2 separate regions of the Homo sapiens genome follow, and region 1 is linked to region 2. The links are contacts of gene promoters, found by promoter capture Hi-C in blood cells and fetal thymus (Javierre and others, 2016). All regions are on one chromosome and are shown on one strand. The core of a region is centred on a gene start or on the middle of the fragment in contact, and the rest is flanking DNA. Distances in the headings are between cores, read along the strand shown. Region 1 overlaps EIF3B (eukaryotic translation initiation factor 3 subunit B). Region 2 holds the start of LNCRI (lncRNA radiation induced regulator of PLK1 and RAD51).

Evidence for each region. The method cuts DNA at HindIII sites, captures the fragments that hold promoters and counts their contacts. A CHiCAGO score of 5 or more calls a contact.
Region 1: a contact is called between a fragment that was not itself captured here and the fragment with the promoter of LNCRI in region 2, in 1 of 17 cell types (naive B cells). The highest score is 5.8, in naive B cells.

The regions. Positions count from the first base shown.
Region 1 is chr7:2,366,264-2,370,673 of GRCh38, forward strand. It overlaps EIF3B (eukaryotic translation initiation factor 3 subunit B), which reads left to right. Exons shown (of 19, transcript NM_001037283.2): 7 at 54-185; 8 at 262-328; 9 at 736-782; 10 at 3,209-3,419. Among named protein-coding and RNA genes, the nearest start is that of EIF3B, 14 kb to the left of the region's middle. The HindIII fragment of the contact is 4,651 bases long and covers 1-4,283 here.
Region 2 is chr7:1,692,670-1,696,957 of GRCh38, forward strand. It overlaps LNCRI (lncRNA radiation induced regulator of PLK1 and RAD51), which reads right to left and starts at 1,681. Exons shown (of 4, transcript XR_007060188.1): 1 at 1,591-1,681; 2 at 105-1,416. All of the region lies in intron 2 of ELFN1 (extracellular leucine rich repeat and fibronectin type III domain containing 1), which reads left to right. The HindIII fragment of the contact is 12,694 bases long and covers 1-4,288 here.

The DNA of each region.
Region 1 (4,410 bases), core at 708-3,207, 670 kb after region 2:
TGTGATCCTCTCGTGAGAGGAGGATAGTGTACAGTGTTGCCCTTCTCTTCTAGGTACCTGGTGACCTTTAGCCCCCTGATGGACACGCAGGATGACCCTCAGGCCATAATCATCTGGGACATCCTTACGGGGCACAAGAAGAGGGGTTTTCACTGTGAGAGCTCAGCCCATTGGCCTATTTTTAAGTAAGTGGACCATTGTAACGAGCTCTGTAGCCTTTGTCTTTTCATGGGAATACCCTGGCACTTTTGTTTTTCTTAGGTGGAGCCATGATGGCAAATTCTTTGCCAGAATGACCCTGGATACGCTTAGCATCTATGAAACTCCTGTAAGTGGCCTCAGTGATGGCAAACGCCCCGTCCGGTCCTTGCTTGTAACCGGGGTGTGGTGCCTTTCCTTATTTGTGCTAGAAGAGGAGGAGGAGGTTTCACAGATGCATAGGAAAGGCCTGTCTCCTGTGCCTTTTTAACTGCCCCTGCTCTGGGCAGAGCTCTTCAGTCACTCCTGCCCACCTGGCGCAGCCGTGGGAAGTCCTGGATGGGAGTTAATGCAGTGGGCTTCAGAACTGCAGTTCTGGGTGGCGGGTGGGTGGATGGGTTCACTGTCACGCTCTGTGTGCACTGCCCCCTAGGCAAACTCACATCAGACTCTTGTTTCCTTTTGTAAAAAGTTAGGTGTGTTTCTGAGACACTGACATGATTTGACTCAACTGCAGCCTTCCTTTTTTTTGGGCAGTCTATGGGTCTTTTGGACAAGAAGAGTTTGAAGATCTCTGGGATAAAGTGAGTATTCTTATCAGTTTGGTGTCTTAGTGTGTTCAGGCTGCTTAACACAATACCAAAAAAAAAAAAAAAAACACAATACCATAGGCTGGGTGGCTTATGACAGCTGAGATTTCTTTCTCCCAGTTCTGGAGCTTGGGAGCTTGAGGTCAGGGTGCCTGCAGACTGTCTGGTGACGGCCCACCTCCCTCCTAGTGGACAGCCCCTCGGTCCAGCCTTCCCTGGAGGAAGGCCTCCGTGGCCTGTTCTGTAAAGTCTCTCATCTCATTCCCAAGGGCTTCCCCCTCAGGACCTCCCACCCCCCAAAAGGCCCCACCCCATGCCGTCACCCCAGGGGGTTAGAATTTCACCCTGTGAATCTGGGGGACACAGACGTGGTCCATTGCAGTTGGTTTCCTTTATTTGCTGTCTCTCCTTTAGCACTCAGCTTTTTGTTGTTGTTGTTAGAGACAGAGTCTCGCTCCGTCAGGCTGGAGTGCAGTGATACGATCTTGGCTCGCTGCAACCTCCACCTCCTGGGTTCAAGTGATTCTTCTGCCTCAACCTCCCGAGTAGCTGGGACTACAGGCATGTGCCACCAAGCCCGGCTAATTTTTGTATTTTTAGTAGGGATGGGGTTTCACCATGTTGGCTGGGCTGGTCTCAAACTCCTGACCTTGTGATCTGCCCGCCTCAGCCTCCCAAAGTGCTGAGATTACAGGCGTGAGCCACCATGCCCAGCCTGTCACTCAGTTCTTAACCAGTTGGAGAGAAAACGGTGAGTTTGTTCTTTTTTTAAAATTTTTTTTTTTTTTTTTTTTTTTTTTTTTTTTTTGAGGCAGAGTCTTACTCTGTCTTGCAGGCTGGTGTAGAGTGGCGAGATCTTGGCTCACTGCAATTTCCACCTCCTGGGTTCAAGTGATTCTCCTTGCCTTAGACTCCCAAGTAGCTGGGACTGCAGGTGCCTGCCACCATGCCTAGCTAATTTTTGTATTTTTAGTAGAGATGGGGTTTCACTGTGTTGGCCATGCTGGTCTCAGAACTCCTGACCTCAAGTGATCTGCCCACCTCAGCCTCCCAAAGTGCTGGGATTACTGGCGTGAGCCACCACACCCAGCCATTTTTAAATCTTTTTTGAGACAGAGTCTTACTCTGTTGCCCAGGCTGGAGTACAGTGGCGTGATCTCGGCTGACTGCAGCCTTCACCTCCCAGGTTCAAACGATTCTGGTGCTTCAGTCTCCTGAGTAGCTGGAATTACAGGCGCGCAACCACTACGCCCAGCTAATTTTTTGTATATTTTAGAAGAGTCGGGGTTTCACCATGTTGGCCAGGCTGGTCTCGAACTCCTGACCTCAAGTGATCCGCCTGCCCGCCTCAGCCTCTCAAAGTGCAGGGATTACAGGTGTGAGCCACCGCGCCCGGCCTAAGGTGAGTTTGTTCTGGACACAAGGATGGAGGCTTGAGTCAGTGGGCAGCAAGGCTGCTCAGCATTGGGCCCGCCACCCTTGAGGCACCACTTCAGTGACCCCTTCCCGTGCCTAGAAATGAATTTTCAAGGCCAGAGCCTTGAGTCGGCTTCCTTCCATCTACCTCGTCTTTGATCTAGAAACTGAGGAGGGTGGGGTTTCCAGCCTTTTAAGGAAAAGAGGGGACTCTGCTTAGGTGAAAGGTTTTCCTGGTACTCTTCCATCCGAGGCAGGGTTTGGGGAGCCTTCGGCTCATTTTCACCAGCAAAGAATGGGCACGTTTTTATTTATCGCAAAACTTGGGACTGGTCAGTATCACGGCAGTGAACTTCCAACAATCCAAGGACATTGACGTTTCTTCTTTCGTTTTTACATTCTTGGGCAAAATTATGGCTTATAAAATGAAAAGACCAGGACGTTGGTTCTCAAAAAATGCAAAACAGCACATAGCGTGTATAAAGATGTTTTTCATGTAGGTGAGCTCAGGAGCCGTTCGTTACAGCAGCTCTTCTGTAGAGTAGTTGATAAAGTGGAGGGAGCTGCCCTTGTTCTTGCTCATTCCTTACACTTGATTTGCCATTTTCCCCATTTGCACCTTAATTAATCTTTAGATGACATGTAGCCAGATCCGTCAGCCTAAAACTTATTTGCCTCAAAGCAGCAGTGTGCGGTGTCTTAAGAGTGGGCTGACGGAGCCCAGGCTGGAGTCCATATGAGTCTGTGCGTGATGGTGGGGTTGCTAATATTCTGTCTGCATTCACTCCTTGTCACAGTGAGCACAGTAGTGCCACAGGGTCCTGGCGAGGACCTATGAAGCTGCGCGGCATGCCCAGAGCAGTGGCTGTGCAGAGGGAGCGCTCAGCGTCAGCTGTGACAGCATTGAGCTTCTATATAGCAAATGAGTTGTTCTATTCTCTTCTGCTTTTCAGTTTCGTCATCACTTGGTCTTTGCTTTAACATTTTATTTTCCTGTTCTGCAGAGACTTTTCTTGGTCTCCTGGTGGTAACATAATCGCCTTCTGGGTGCCTGAAGACAAAGATATTCCAGCCAGGGTAACCCTGATGCAGCTCCCTACCAGGCAAGAGATCCGAGTGAGGAACCTGTTCAATGTGGTGGACTGCAAGCTCCATTGGCAGAAGAACGGAGACTACTTGTGTGTGAAAGTAGATAGGACTCCGAAAGGCACCCAGGTATGTAGATTCCCACAGGAACTGACGATTCCTTATCCTGAGCTCTGAAGTGGCCACCGTATTGTTTGGAGGGTGTTAATGGATTTTTTTTTTTTTTTTTTTTTTTTTTTTTTGAGATGGAGTCTCACTCTGTCACCAGGCTGTAGTGCAGGAGTGCGATTTCGGCTCACTGCAGTCTCTGCCTCCTGGTTTCAAATGATTCTTCTGCCTCAGCTTCCCAAGTAGCTGGGACTATAGGCGTCCACCACCACGCTTGGCTAATTTTTGTATTTTTATTAGAGACAGGGTTTCACCATGTTGGCCAGGCTGGTCTTGAACTCCTGACCTTAGGTGATCTGCCCGCCTTGGCCACCCAAAGGGCTGGGATTACAGGCGTGAGCCACCGTGCCTGGCTGAGAATATTATTTTCTTTCTAAGCACAAGGAGTAGTATACTCAAGATTTATTTTTTTATTTTTTTATTTTTGGTGGTTGATCATTTAATATTTATTTTATCAAAAAATTGCCTGAGTTGGCTGGGTGTAGTGGCCCATGCCTGTAATCCCAGCACTTTGGGAGGCCGAGGTGGGCGGATCATGAGGTCAAGAGATTGAGACCATTCTGGCCAACGTGGTGTGAAACCCCATCTCTACTAAAAGTACAATAATTAGCTGGGCGTGGTGGGAGGCTCCTGTAGTCCCAGCTACTCGGGAGGCTGAGGCAGGAGAATCGCTTGAACCCAGGAGGCAGAGCTTGCAGTGAACAGAGCGAGATTGCGCCACTGCACCCCAGCCTGGCGACAGAGCCAGACTGCGTCTCACAAAAAAAAAGAAATTCCTGAGTTTTCCCTCTAATAGAAGTATTCTTCTTTCTTTTATGTTAAGAAAGCTTTAATTGACATGTAGTTCACATGCCTGAAAACACCCCTTTAGAGTGGTGAACTGGTTCAGTGGTTTTTCGTGTGTTCAGAGTTATGCAGCCACCACCACTCATTTCAGAACGTTTTCATCGGC
Region 2 (4,288 bases), core at 431-2,930:
TGGCTGGGTGGAGTGGGAAGGGAGATTTTTGAGGCCCTCCTGGGGCTCCCTCCCCTCAACCTCACCAGCTCCCTGACTCTGCTGTGTGACCTAGGGTCAGTTACCTTACGTCTCTGAGCTTCTATTAATATTTCCTTCATCGGAAACTACGGACGTTTCTTTAATTCCTAGGTCTGAGGACTGTGGAATCAAAGGAGAGAAAGTGAAAGAACGCCCAGTGGGGGCCACATCAGCTTCCGCCTCTATGTACCCTGCAGGGAACGGCAGGGACCTCACAAGGCAGGCCTGGGCCTGCGCCACGCTCTGCCATGTGCTGGCCGGGCTGTTACTCTCTCAGCCTCAGTTTTGTTGTCTGTAAAATGGGCGCAGGTCAGCCTCTCCCTGTGAACAAGGCTGTGAGGATTCAGCCCCAGCTGGGCTGGCCCGTCCTTCACCCTCCTTAAGGGGTGCAGGCCCCCAGGAAGTGACTGCCCATGCAGACCCCTAGTGACCAGATGCTGGGTTCCGCTGGGGTCCTGGTAGTGGGCAGTGCAGGCCCTGGAGATGTTCATGGCCGCGTGGACACCTTAAGAGTCCAGCAGACGTGGGGTTAGGAAGAGAGGATGTACTGGCTGGGGAAAGGAACGCCCATCGGGGCAGCCTCAGAAAGTGCCCGATTCCAAGAGTCTGGGCAGGCGTGGGCTTGGACTGCCCAGTGTGCCTGGACAGCCGTGTACACACACTGGTGTGCCTGAGTAGGTATGTGCACATATGTGTACACATAGGTGACATGGGCTTAGACTGCCTGGTGCACCCAGACAGGTGCGTGCCGCAGGGACAGAGTATACGATGTGTGGTGTGGGGCGTGACCCACTTCCTGGTGCAAGAACACATACACGCCTGTGGACGTAGCCTTGCTGGGTGTGTGCACATCTGCAGAGGGGTCGGTGTACACCGCTGTGTGAACACCTCCGGCGGTGCCCAGTCCGTGTGAACACATGCAGGTGAGCACAGACACATGCGTGCATGCCCTCTGTGTGTCTACAGACAGCTGTGTGCGCCACACTCACCCTCCCGCTCGTCCCCATGGCAACCCCAGAGCAGGTGTCTGGGAGACCCTGATCAGTGCTGACAGACACGGGGTGCGGGACACGTGGGATGGGCCTCCCCAGGGACGGCTGGGCCAATCGGGGTTCCTGGGCAGAGGCTCCAGCAGGAGTGAGAGTGCTTCCTCCTCCCCAGTCCATGCCACCTCCTCCTGCGTGCCGGCAAGGTGGGCAGCACTCGGGAAGCCCCCGTCTGGCTGTGATTCTTGCAGGGCGATTGGAGCAATACAGCCCTGTCTGGCCTGTCCGTGCACCGACGCTTAGAGCTGAACAGCCTTCAGGGCCACAGACTCAGCAGGGAGCGCCCAGTCTGTGGTCCTGGTCTCACTTCCTAGAAAGAGAAACCGAGGCTTGAAGCAGCTCCAGCCAGGGTTCCCCAGCCAGCCCCGGCAGACCCAGGCCCCTCACACTCCACCATGCCCACCTCCATCTGGAAGGAGGCAGGGAGCCCCCAGGTCCCAGGCTTGGGAGGCCGGTGCCGGGCAGGGCTGGGGAATGCCATCACCTTAAACCCACACTGGCCTCCCTGCGGGTGGTTTTCCTGCCTCCCTTTGCCGTTTTGCTGGTTATCAAAGACCTTTGCTGCGAGACCCAGGCCGGCCCAGCCCAGCGCCTCCCATCCTCCTGTGAAGTCATCCGCTCAGTTGGCAGGGTTCCCATGGCAACGGCAGTGATGTCACAAAGAGCTGGAGGAGGATGGCTGGAGGGAGGAGTGGGGTGAGGCTCCGGGAGGGGATTCCTGGCTTCTCCCAGGCCTTCTAGAAAGATAGAGCTCTGGTCCATCAGTCACTCAATAGGCCGGAGCTTATGCCCCTAGAAGCAGATCCCAGGGGTACCCCCCACCTCCCTGAGACAGGAAACCATCTCCTTGAAGGAGTCAGCTCCCCCAGCACCCAGACGCCCACCTGCCCAGGTGCAGAGGCCCTTGCAGGAGCGAGGGTATGAGACAGGAGGCCCTGACACCAAGACGTCACTGTCACCATGCCTGGCCCGCACAGCGGTCCTTTGCCAAACTTAGACTGACTCTGAGGGCTGCTGGCTGCACACCCTCCAGGGTGCATTCGAGACCACCTGTCAGCTGCCCTGCACTTGAGTTTCTTGATCTCCACTGCTATTAATAGTTTAATTCCAGAACCAAAGAAACTGTCTGTTCCACAGAAGTGGGGGACTCTGAGAGTCTCCCTGACCCTGGCTGCCAACAGCAGCCTGTGCCCAGCTGGGACAAATTCCAGCTCCCTGCCCTCCCTGTTGAGTGCTGCAGAGGGGCGTCGGGCGTCGTGCACATGTGCCCATCCCCCTCACTTTGAGTTACGCTGCAGACGGCTCCGGATGCACGTGGCTGTGCCAGGCAGCAGACGTGGCCGACAGGCACATGGTGGGACCTGCTCTGTGGCTCCAGAGCTCATGCGCAGCCCGCTGGGGCTGTGAGGGTTCTGTCCATCCACCAGGAAGGCCACCAGGACCCTGCTCCTGCCTGAGAACCCCAGGAAGTAGTAGCGTGCCAGGTGCGTGGCCGGCCTCCCAGCCCTTCCCAGCACCAGCTGCGTCCTCCTCCTCCAGGGCTGCAGCTCAGGGCTCAGGTGTCCGCGTCGAGGGCACTCCCTAAAGGGCAGGAGCAGGACCATTGGCACAAGCCTGGGCGAGTCTCGCTGGGAGGCAGGAGCAGACTCAGCCCGCCAAGCCCATGAACCCCACTTTGAAAACTGTGCAGCCGTGCGCGGCCACTCACACCTGTAATTCCAGCACTTTGGGAGGCTGAGGCGGGCAGATCACCTGAGGCCAGGAGTTCAAGACAAGCCTGGCCAACATGGAGAAACCCCGTCTCTACTAAAAAATACAAAAATTAGCCGGGCGTTGTGGTGGACACCTGTAATCCCAGTTACTTGGGAGGCTGAGGCAGGGAGAATTGTTTGAACCCAGGAGGTGGAGGTTGCAGTGAGCCGAGATCGCGCCACTGCACTGCAGCCTGGGTGACAGAGCGAGACTCCGTGTCAAAAAAAAAAAAAAAAAAAAAAAAACCGTGCTGGTTTGGTTTCACTGACTCCCATTCATTTATTCACAAACATTTACTCAGCAAATCTTGTTGGGCCCGCCAGGCCCTAGGGTTACCAGACAAAGTCTGTTTCCTCCTGGAGTGTGCATTTATTAAATACCTACTGTATGCCGAGCCCCAGGCTGGTTTAGATGTGGGGGCACAGCAGTGAGCAGGGCAGACCTGACTCCTGCCTGCCTTTGTCGGCCCCGGCTCTCATAACAAAAGCGGGACACTGGAGTCTAGACAGCAGCACACATTGTCTCCCCGCCCTGAGACTGGAAGTCTGGGATCGGGTGCCAGCGGGGTTGGTTCTAGGAGGGCCAGTGTCCTGGTTTGCAGATGGCTACCTTCTCACCGTGTCCTCCCAAGACAGAGAGAGAGAGAGAGTGTGTGTGTGTGTGTGTGCGTGTGTATGTGAGAGAGAGAGGGAGAAAGAAAGAGACAGAGGGAGAGAGAGAGAAAGAGGGTGAGAGGGAGAGAAAGAGATGGAGAGAGAGAGAGAGAGAGGGAGAGAGAAAGAGGGAGGGAGAGATGGAGAGAGAGAGGGAAAGAGAGACAGGGAGAGAGAGGGCATGCAGATGCCCTGGTGTCTTTCTTTCTTTCTTTTTTTTTTTTTTTTCCAGAGATGGTCTCCCTCTGTCACCCGGGCTGGAGTGCAGTGACACAATCACAGATCACTGCAGCCTCCACCTCCTGGGCTCAAGCCATCCTCCCACCTCAGGTTCCATAGTAGCTGGGACCACAGGTGCGTGCCACCACACCCATGCACTAACTATTGTTTAAAACTTTTTTCTGTGGAGATGGAGTTTCGCTATGTTGCCCAGGCTAGTCTTGAACTCCTGGCTCAATCAGTCCTCCTGCCTCAGCCTCCCAAAGTGTTGAGATTACTCGTGTGAGCCACGGTGCCCAGCCTGGCATCCTTCCTTGTAAAGGCTCTAATCCCATCGTGGGCCCCACCCTCATGACCTCGGCTAACTCCGATCACCTCCCAGAGAACCCGCTGCCTCCTCTCATCAGCCGGGGGCCAGGGCTTCATCCCAGGGATGCTGGGCACACTTCAGCCCACGGCACTGCCCTTAAGGAGCTGAGGGTCCGGTGGGATGACTCGAGCAAAGGAAGGCATTAGGAAAACAACGAGGGCCACAGGAAATGACCACGAGCAATGCAC